Linked DNA regions of Homo sapiens: all the other regions are linked to region 2. The links are contacts of gene promoters, found by promoter capture Hi-C in blood cells and fetal thymus (Javierre and others, 2016). All regions are on one chromosome and are shown on one strand. Each heading gives the region's core, a stretch centred on a gene start or on the middle of the fragment in contact. The rest is flanking DNA. Distances are from core to core; before and after follow the strand shown.

The links. The method cuts DNA at HindIII sites, captures the fragments that hold promoters and counts their contacts. A CHiCAGO score of 5 or more calls a contact.
Region 1: a fragment that was not itself captured here is called in contact with the fragment with the promoter of MRPL17 in region 2 in 2 of 17 cell types (non-activated CD4 T cells and naive CD8 T cells); the score reaches 7.4 in non-activated CD4 T cells.
Region 3: a contact is called between a fragment that was not itself captured here and the fragment with the promoter of MRPL17 in region 2, in 1 of 17 cell types (naive CD4 T cells). The highest score is 5.6, in naive CD4 T cells.

The regions. Positions count from the first base shown.
Region 1 is chr11:6,419,719-6,423,111 of GRCh38, reverse strand. No RefSeq gene overlaps it. Among named protein-coding and RNA genes, the nearest start is that of APBB1, 2.3 kb to the right of the region's middle. The HindIII fragment of the contact is 1,272 bases long and covers 1,342-2,613 here.
Region 2 is chr11:6,682,090-6,685,163 of GRCh38, reverse strand. MRPL17 (mitochondrial ribosomal protein L17) reads left to right here and starts at 1,824. Exons shown (of 3, transcript NM_022061.4): 1 at 1,824-2,041; 2 at 2,349-2,417; 3 at 2,762-3,074. The coding sequence starts at 1,868. The coding sequence ends at 3,046. RefSeq lists enhancers at 1,664-2,103, 1,520-2,282. The HindIII fragment of the contact is 17,410 bases long and covers 1-3,074 here.
Region 3 is chr11:6,236,102-6,239,528 of GRCh38, reverse strand. CNGA4 (cyclic nucleotide gated channel subunit alpha 4) reads right to left here and starts at 440. Exons shown (of 6, transcript NM_001037329.4): 1 at 261-440; 2 at 44-145. The coding sequence starts at 322. The HindIII fragment of the contact is 962 bases long and covers 1,651-2,612 here.

The DNA of each region.
Region 1 (3,393 bases), core at 728-3,227, 260 kb after region 2:
AATAATTTTCAAAGTCTGCTGCCTCAGAGGAACCCACATTGGTCAGAACCAAATGCAGCATTTGAGGTGGCTCATAGGCTATTCATTGGTTGCTCCCACACCATAGAAAGCATCAGAAGAGGGAAGAGATTACAGTAGGGAAAGGATGGGTGAAAGGCACAGGTTGATTCCCCATTGGTCAGGAGACTTTGCAGACCTCAGAGGAGATCAGGAATTCAGGAAGATCGCCTGCGGGTCAAATACATAAGGAAAAAGATGCCCATGTGAACTGCACATGGGCATCCCTAGCTAATTAGAGTCCTCCCTTCAACCTCATCATGCAATCTATGTCCTTCTTACCTGAAGAGATTTCCCTGAATACTGCAGCCTTCCTGCTCAATGAGATTGGGAAGACAAATATTTTGGTGGGCTATCTGTAAATGGGTGATACTTCTGGATTTTTTTTTTCATTTTCTCAAAAATAAATCTAGATGTCATTTTTTAAATCTACAATTCCATAGCTAATCAACCAACTGATCACTGATTTCTGGGAATTCTACCTCTTGAATATTTATTAAACCTATGCAATTTTCTCCATCCCTAGTCCCACCACCAGAGTCCAAGCCATCATCATCTTTAACCTGGTCTCTTGCTTCCTAACTGGTCTATATTCTTCCAATTTTGCTTTCCACCTATCTATTCTTCCTCAGGAGCTGAAAGCGATCTTCTAAAATGCGAGTGTGAACATGCCCCTCTCCTGCTTCAAACCCTTCCATGATTTTCCATTGCCCTTAAAATAAAGGTCAAACCCTTAGCTCAGCATATAAGGCCCTCCTTGATCTGGCACTTTCCCACCTTCCTATTTCATCTTATGCCATTCTCCACTATCACAACTGTTAGGCTGTTCTTGTGTTGCTGTAAGTAAATACTTGAGACTGGGTAATTTATAAAGAAAAGAGGTTTAGGGCCAGGTGTGGTGGCTTATGCCTGTTATCCCAGCACTTTGGGAGGCCAAGGCGGGCGGATCACGAGGTCAGGAGATTGAGACCATCCTGGCTAACACGGTGAAACCCCATCTCTACTAAAAACACAAAAAATTAGCTGGGCATGGCAGTGGGTGCCTGTAGTCCCAGCTACTTGGGAGGCTGAGGCAGGAGAATGGTGTGAACCCGGGAGGCGGAGATTGCAGTGAGCCGAGATTGCGCCACTGCACTCCAGCCTGGGGGACAGAGCGAGACTCTGTCTCAAAAAAAAAAAAAAAAAAAGAAAAGAAAAGAGGTTTAATCGGCTCACAGTTCTGCAGGCTATACAGGAAACATAGCACCAGCATCTGCTTGGCTTCCAGGGGGTCCTCAGGAAGCTTTTACTCATGGCAGAAAGCAAAGTGGGAGCAGGCATCCCACATGGCTGATCAGAAGCAAGAGAGTGTGGGGGGAGAGGTGCCATACACTATTTATTTATTTATTTATTTATTTGAGATGGAGTTTCACTCTGCTGCCCAGGCTGGAGTGCAGTGGCGTGATCTCGGTTCACTGCAGCCTCCGCCTCCTGGGTTCAAGTAATTCTCCTGCCTCAGCCTTCCAAGTAGCTGGGACTACAGGTGCCCGCCACCATGCCCAGCTAATTTTTTTGTGTTTTTAATAGAGATGGGATTTCACCATGTGGACCAGGCTGTTCTCGAACTCCTGGTCTCAAGTTGATCTGCCCACCTTGGCCTCCCAAAGTGCTGGGATTACAGGCCTGAGCCACCACGCCTGGCCATGCCACACACTTTTAAATAACCGGATCTCACAAGAACTCACTCATCATGGGGAAGACAGCACCAAGCCATGAGAGATCCACCCCTACGACCTGAACACCTCCCACCAGACCCCACCTCCAGCATTGGGGATTACAATTCAACATGAGATTTGATCAGGGACAAATATCCAAACTATATCAACACCCATACTGACCTTCCTGTATTTCTCCTGCTACTTGGAATACTTTTCTCTTCTCCTGGCTGACCTCTAGCTCCTTCATCCCTTTCCCTCACTGAATTGTCACTTCCTATGAAAGCCTCCTAAACTTCCCAGGCCAAATTAAGCCCACTCACATAGCTCCCGGTACATCTCCTTCAAGACACTCATCACATTCCTAATTACATATTTAATGTCTCTTTCCCCTGTTAAATTTCAAGCTGTATGAGAGACGGAACTGTATCTTGTTTCTTGACCTGTTGCTAGCACCAAGGACAGTACCTCATACATAGTAATTATTTGATGAAAGAAAATGAATGAATGAATGAATGAGGACACTTTTGTTCTTCTGGGTAATTCTTCTTCATCTTTCAAGAACCCAGGTCAGATGTCATTTCCTCCAGGTGAGATGCAGTCAAATCTGATTCGTCTTTAGATCCCTAGGGCCTGGCTTGGGACCTGATACATGGTTCATATATCATAGGCATTTGTCAAATCATTATAAACTATTGGTTGTGAATTCATAATTGTTGAAACTGAATGATAGGTATATGAGGGTTCATTATATTGTTCTGTCTGCTTTAGTATATATTGGAAATTTGCCATAATAAAAAGTTAAAACATTTATATTTACCACAAGTAAAATAAAAGTATATTCAAAGATGACTTTGAAGCTTCTGGCTTGGGAAGCCAGTAGTTGGTGTCATTCATTGGAATGGATGGAATGGAGTTGTGTCCAGTGTGGGATGTGTGTTGTGTTGTGTGTGTTGAAGAGGGTTCTTTTTCACCCCAGTGAAACTCCTTAAAAGACTAATAAAGGGGGATGAAACAATAAATTGAGGCTGGACACTGTGTCTGACGCCTGTAATCTCAGCACTTTGGGAGGCCGAGGTGGGAGGATCGCTTGAACACAGGAGTTCCAGACCAGCCTGGGGAACACAGTGAGACCCCCTCTCTACTAAAATACAAAAAGCCAGGCGCGGTGGCACATGTCTGTGGCCCAGGTACTCCGGGGGCTGAGGCGGGAGGAATCTGAGCCCTGGAGGCTGAGGCTTCAGAGAGCCATGATCTTGCCCCTGGGTGACAGAGTGAGACCCTGCCTTGAAAGAAAGAACGAACTCAGATTTGGATATCTTTAGTTTTAGGCACCTGAGAGGGATTAGCATGTAGAGGCTTTCTGGATGGTAATATAACCTCTCATTATCCTTGATGGCCTCTGGGTCACTGATCTGACCATTGGGATGTATCCCACTATCCAGGGAGGGTCTGTAGTAAGTATTGCACCCCACCATCTTCCTTACATCTTTACACTTTTCATTCACAATATCCCCTTCCTTGTGAATTTCTACCGGGGAGCAATGTATTCTTGACATTTTCCAGGCCTTGATGTCAGCTTTATGCTCAGCAGCAGAGGTATTTCAGTGTCAAGAAACATCGGAGTTCCAGTCTAAATTCA
Region 2 (3,074 bases), core at 575-3,074:
TTGCTCCCAAAGAAACAAAACATGAATGGTAATTGTAATTTCTGTAATTTATTGTAAATTTCTTTAATTGTGAAGTGTGATTTGTATAAATCTGTCAATGTATTTATATGTTCATGACTTTTCCTATTTGCATATTTGTTCCTTCATATTAAAGAAACTTTTCAAAATTAAAATTAGCAAAGAAGTGTTCTTTGGTCACCTATAAGCTGACAAAGTGACAAATCTATACGTCTACTGAATATGTACATGTAAAGAGGAGTGAATTCATTTCCTAAGACTGCTGTAACAAACTATCACAAACTGTGGAACTTAAAACAACAGAAATTTATTGTTTTGTGGCTCTGGAGGCTAGAAGTAAGAAAGCGATGTGTTAGCAGCAGGGTCATGCTCTCTGACAGATCTGAAAAAGAATGCGTTTTATACCTTTCCCTTGGCTTCAGGTGTGCTCCAGCAATCCTTGGTGTTCATTCATTGATTTGCAACTGCTTGACTCCATAATCTCTGCTTTCAAGGTCACATGGCTTTCTGCCTGTATGTCTCTGTCTTTACCTGGTCAGCATCACCCTGTGTCCATCTCTCTCTCTTCATGCGCATTTTTTTTTTTTTTTTTTTTGAGATAGAGCCTCACTCTGTCGCCCAGTCTAGAGTGCAGTGCCCGATCTCAGCTCACTGCAACCTCCACCTCCCGGGTTCAAGCTATTCTCCTGCCTCAGCCTCCCGAGTAGCTAGAATTACAGGCATGAGCCACCACGCCCGGCTAATTTTTGTGTTTTTAGTAGAGACGGGGTTTCGCCATGTTGGCCAGGCTGGTCTCGAATTCCTGACCTCAGGTGATCCGCCCGCCTCGGCCTCCCAAAGTGCTGGAATTACAGGAGTGAGCCACCGTGCCCGGCCTGCATATATGTATGTACGTATATATGTGTCTATCTATCTAGCTAGCTAGACACTAGGCATTTTGGATTAGGCGCCCACCTATGCCTGCATGACTTCATCTTAACAAATGACATCTGCAATGACCCTATTTCCACATAAGGTCACATTCTGAGTTACTGCAGGTTAGGACTTAACATAGCTTTTTGGGGACGGGAAGAATCATGGGGAAGACACAATTCAACCCATAACAAGGAATAATTTTGACAGTCATTGCCAATTTGCAGATGTTAAGGCTCAAAAACAAACTATAATATTATTGTTCATTAACACATAAATGTGTAGGTATGTTTTTTCCCCTTAAAAAGACACACTGGTGTAATTAAAAACAATCTACTACTTTTCCCTTTAGTGCTGTAATTTTTTTAACTGGAGTGATTACTTCAATAAAAGAAAAATTTCACTATCTGCGTTTCTTTTCCGGGCATCGTTATTATCCATCTCACCATTACTACTGAAAATCACTGTGTTAAAAACAATGCGTACAGGTGTCAACCAGGCCAGCTGGCCACTGCTGGACCCGGTAGGGCCGTCAGCCCGCAGGACCCCGAACCCTCCGGGTGCCTTTCTCTTCAGACGCTCTCTTTCCCAGGAGTCTCCGCGGCGGAGCGCCCCATCGCCCTAAATGCCACTGGCTGACGCAGCCCCAAAAAAAACCCGATGGCCCGCTTATCCCACACTAGGGGGCGCCTGGTTCTTCGGCCGCCACAGAGCGCTCTGGATGCCTGAAGCCCGCCCAGCTCGCCGCCTCTGGAAAAGCTCAACACCGTTTCTCCGCCCTTCCCGAGATTGCCAACGAGGCAGGCTCTGATGCGCATGCGCAAACACGTTCACCACGCTCCGAGCTAAGGCGCATGCGTTCCCTGAAATTGCCGCCACCGGCTCTACCTTCCAGTTTCCAGTTCCGGCCTCCAAGGGGCGGGCAGAAGTTGGAAACATGCGGCTGTCGGTCGCTGCAGCGATCTCCCATGGCCGCGTATTTCGCCGTATGGGCCTCGGTCCCGAGTCCCGCATCCATCTGTTGCGGAACTTGCTCACAGGGCTGGTGCGGCACGAACGCATCGAGGCACCATGGGCGCGTGTGGACGAAATGAGGGGCTACGCGGAGAAGGTGAGGAGCGCGGCCCTCTTGTCCACTCTGCGGGTCTGGTCTGAGGGGGCGGAGCCGGCTGCAAGTGGAAAGGGACCGGGACCAACCTGGTAAACCATTCCCCAAGTCTGAGTCCCCCAGAACCTTGGGCTGAACCCGCCCCTCCATCGCCTCTAATGGAAGACTGGTTAGGGCTGCGGAGTTAGGGGTGGCGTAGATTGGAGATGCTTGGCTAGTGGAAAGAATGGATTGCCTTCCGGCATTAGAGAAATTAGATTGGCACCTTGTTTTCTTGCTCGGTTGGATCCGTGATGTTATGTCCTCACAGCTCATCGACTATGGGAAGCTGGGAGACACTAACGAACGAGCCATGCGCATGGCTGACTTCTGGCTCACAGTGAGTGCGACCTATCTGCCTTCAAAATCCCACCCTTTGCTCCCTGGGGGTGGGGGTTGGAAAAAGGAGAACTATGCAGAATTAAACTTGGGTACTCACTTATGGGCCAGTGCTGCTAACTAAATTAGAAACTGTGTCTTAAGTTAGTTGAAGTCGATGTGAATATACCTCTGCACAACTGCCTATAAACGACCCCTTTGTGTAACACTGACTATGCCAGATTGGCGAGGGGAGGGGGAGGTCTTTCTATGTGTGGATGGACCTTACCTTTGGGAATGGTGTAAAGTTAAATGCCTCTGCAGTTTTGCCTGACTCTGCTGTCTCTTGGATAATTCTCCCTCTAGGAGAAGGATTTGATCCCAAAGCTGTTTCAAGTACTGGCCCCTCGGTACAAAGATCAAACTGGGGGCTACACAAGAATGCTGCAGATCCCAAATCGGAGTTTGGATCGGGCCAAGATGGCAGTGATCGAGTATAAAGGGAATTGCCTCCCACCCCTGCCTCTGCCTCGCAGAGACAGCCACCTTACACTCCTAAACCAGCTGCTGCAGGGTTTGCGGCAGGACCTCAGGCAAAGCCAGGAAGCAAGCAACCACAGCTCCCACACAGCTCAAACACCAGGGATTTAACTGGATCTGAAGAGTCTGCAGCCCTTAA
Region 3 (3,427 bases), core at 882-3,381, 450 kb after region 2:
CTCTTTTTGGCTTCCAGCCCCTCCCTTAGCACCGCTGCCATACCTGCACACGAGGATGATGAGGTTATACATGACTGGGAAGACCATTGTGTTCAGCCACCAGTAGTAGTAATCCCCAGATGGGTCCAGGACAGGCAGCAACTTCCTGTAAGAAAGAAAGTCTTGCTTCATTTATTCACCAGGCATTCAAAGCTGTAGTTGTGACTGGGGCACCAAGAGGAATGAGGAGAGATCCCACACAAGGGACCAGGACTTCTCACCTGGCCTTGGATGGGGCTGGGGGACTGGACTCTGTTGTCTTCACTTTGGTGTCCTGGCTCATGGTTCTGTGGTCTGGTGCTGGGGTGTGAGATGTCCACACCCTCTCTGCCTGTAGGGGACTTCTGGAGTTGGGCACTAGTGCCTGACTGCCTGAAGGAGGCTGCTGTTGGGCTTCTGCTGTGACTTCTTTGTCTTTGGGGCTCTTAGCAACACAACCAGAGCTAGCGCTACTGAAGGGGTGGAGACAGTCTAGCTCTAGCACTCTGCCCTGTCTCCCAGGGCCTGGGCTTACACCTGCCCAGCTAAACACCTCTAATGAGATCCCTGGAGAAGGTGGGGGTGCATGCCTCAGAGGGAAGCCTGAGTCTTGTCTCTGTTTTCCTCCTCCCCTCTTTCCACAGCAACTGAGCTACATAGGTGTCCTCTGGGTCAGAAGACCTCAGTTTTAGTGTAGGATCAAACACTCTGTTTTATCTTTGCAAATTCTATTTGGGCCTCACTATTTATTTATTTAACAACTATTACTGAATGGCTTATCTATGTCAGGTGCTAAACTATTCTCCAGGGACAAAGAGATGCCTCTCACATGAGAAGTGAGCTCTATTTTTGTAACCTACTTCCTACCCTTATCTACCTCCACATACGCCTTCCCCCATCACACCATTCTCATAGGTAGTGTGATAGGGGCCATCCTATGGTGCTTTTGTCCTCATATCCTTCTTGTGACTTCTAGTGCCTGATCCTACCAACCATTCCATGTGTTTTATGGTCCCCAATCTTTCAACTTTTCTCTTTTTGTGAACCTGCTTCAATATCTCCTATATCAAAACAAACAAAAACCCTACAATTTCTCCCTCAACCTGATGTTCCTTTCACTGCTATCATCTTTCTCAGTCAACAAATCAAAATCAGAACACCCATAGGCAGGTGTTCTGTGTGCCAGGCCAATATTGTGCTAAATACTAGGAATTGGAGATGAATAAGACACGCTCCCCCTTCTCCAGAAGCTCACAGTCTGCTAGGTGAAATAGTCAGGCCAGCAGGTAATTACACATGAGGTAACTAAACAGCAGCAGTCATTGCCAGGCTGCTGATGAGTACTCTGTTAGCTGGATACACGGAAGGCTATTATAGTACACATGAAGTGGCCCTACAGAGCCTGGGTTCTGCAGGATGAATAGGAGTTGGGTACAGAGATGGGAGGGTGAAGAGCACTAGAGGCAGAATGCACAGAGTGGGCAAAGGCATAGAGATATCAAAAAGCGTGGGTGACTGGGCAAATATCAATTGGCTTATTTTAGAGGGCCTAGCGGGTAGTGGTGAGAGATGAGGTTGAATGATAGACAGAGGCCAGCTCAGGAGGAGTTCTGTCAGCCATGTTATAAAGCTTGGATTTTACCCAACGGCAATAGAGAACCTGTGAAGAGTTTTTCACAGTTCAGTGATAAAATCAGGTTTGTGTTTTTGGAGTGTGTTTTAGAAGAAAAACCTGTGGTCCCTAATTAAATTTTGAAAAACTCTCTTTTCCCATGGCTTCTTAATTTCTTTTTGCAAAGTATTACGCTTGTTAAAATAAAAAGACAACATTCAAAGTAATGCAACAAAATGAATAAAATCCTTTGTAATGCCATAATGTCTTGGTTTGCTGTTTCTTTTTAGTGTCTTTCATAAGCTCCTCTGTCTATTCCTTCTATGATGGTGTTTTTTTTTTTTCTTGGATTCTGTTCTAGGCTTTCTACTTTTGCCATCCTCCTAACTCTGTCTGATTGACGTCAGTCACCCACAGGACTTCCTTTCTCATATAGTGGCTCCCGAGAACTCTCCCTGAGTTTCAGTTATCTATATGACTAACTGCTCACTGGATGTTCCTACTTGGGTATCCCGCGGTCACCTTCAACCCATTGGGTCTATAACTAAGCTCATTATCTTCCTCCACTTTTTCTTCTAGAATTCCTATCTATGCCCTTTCAGCAAAAAAACCTATGACAAGCATTTATTACTATTTACTGTATAATGTTGTGGCAGTTAAAAAAAATGGTCACAAATTCTTCGACACCACTCCCTTGTGATAGTTTGTATAGCAGGAGTGATGTTGTGTGACTTCTAAGGCTAGATCATAAAAGGCCATGCAGCTTCCCTCTGGTTCTCTTGGAATGCGTGTTGTCTGGTAGCTCCCTCTCAGAATGTTCCCTCTTGGAACCTACCCATCACATTGTGAGAAGTTCTGTTTGACAGTTTGCCCAATGAGTTCAGCTTTTTCATTATCCCAGCCCAGGAATTAGATGTGTGACTGAAGAAGCCTCCAGATGCTTCCAGCCACCAGCCTCAAACCACCTCTAGATGTTCAAGCTTTACAAATAAGGCCCCAGACATCATGGAATAGAGACAAGCCATTCCTGTTGCATCTCGTCCAAATTCCCAGAATTTGTGCACATAATAAAATGGCTATTGTTTTTATGACACTAAGTTTGGGTTGGTTTGTCACATAGCATAGTAACCAGAACAAACAAACACAGAGAAAGGTGTACAATCCTTAAGTATATAGCTTAATACATTTTCACAAAGTGAACACACCCATATAACCAAGCACTCAGATCAAGAAACAGAACATCACCAGTGCCTCAGGAGCCCCACTCTGCCCCTTTCAGTCAATGTTTTTCCAAGAATAATCACTATCCTGAATTCTAATATCACAGTTTAGTTTTACCTGTTTTTGAATTTATATAAACTAAGCATTAGTTTTTAATTCTTCCTCTTATTTTCCTCTTATATCCACCCAATCATCAAACCATGGTGATCTACCTTCTAAAAATCCACATGTCCACTTCTCTGCATTTTTGCTACTCTAGTTTGGGCCTTATCAGCTTGTTTGGTCTTTTGCAAAGTTACTGTATAACTATCAATCTATGTATAAAATTCTTTATAGCTATCATCCCAAAAATAAAATCTAAATTCCTTAACATGGTTTATAAAGTTCTCCAGTCCATGTCTTCAGCCTCATCTCACAATGTTTCCTCACATGTTCCCTAGGCTCCCGACACACTGTACTGATTGCAGTTCTTACAGCACCTCCCACATGCTGTCCATTCTTCCTTTCCCTGGTATATGCTGATCCTTTGGTCTGAAACTTCTATTTCTTTTTAAATACTTTTTATTTGAACTAATT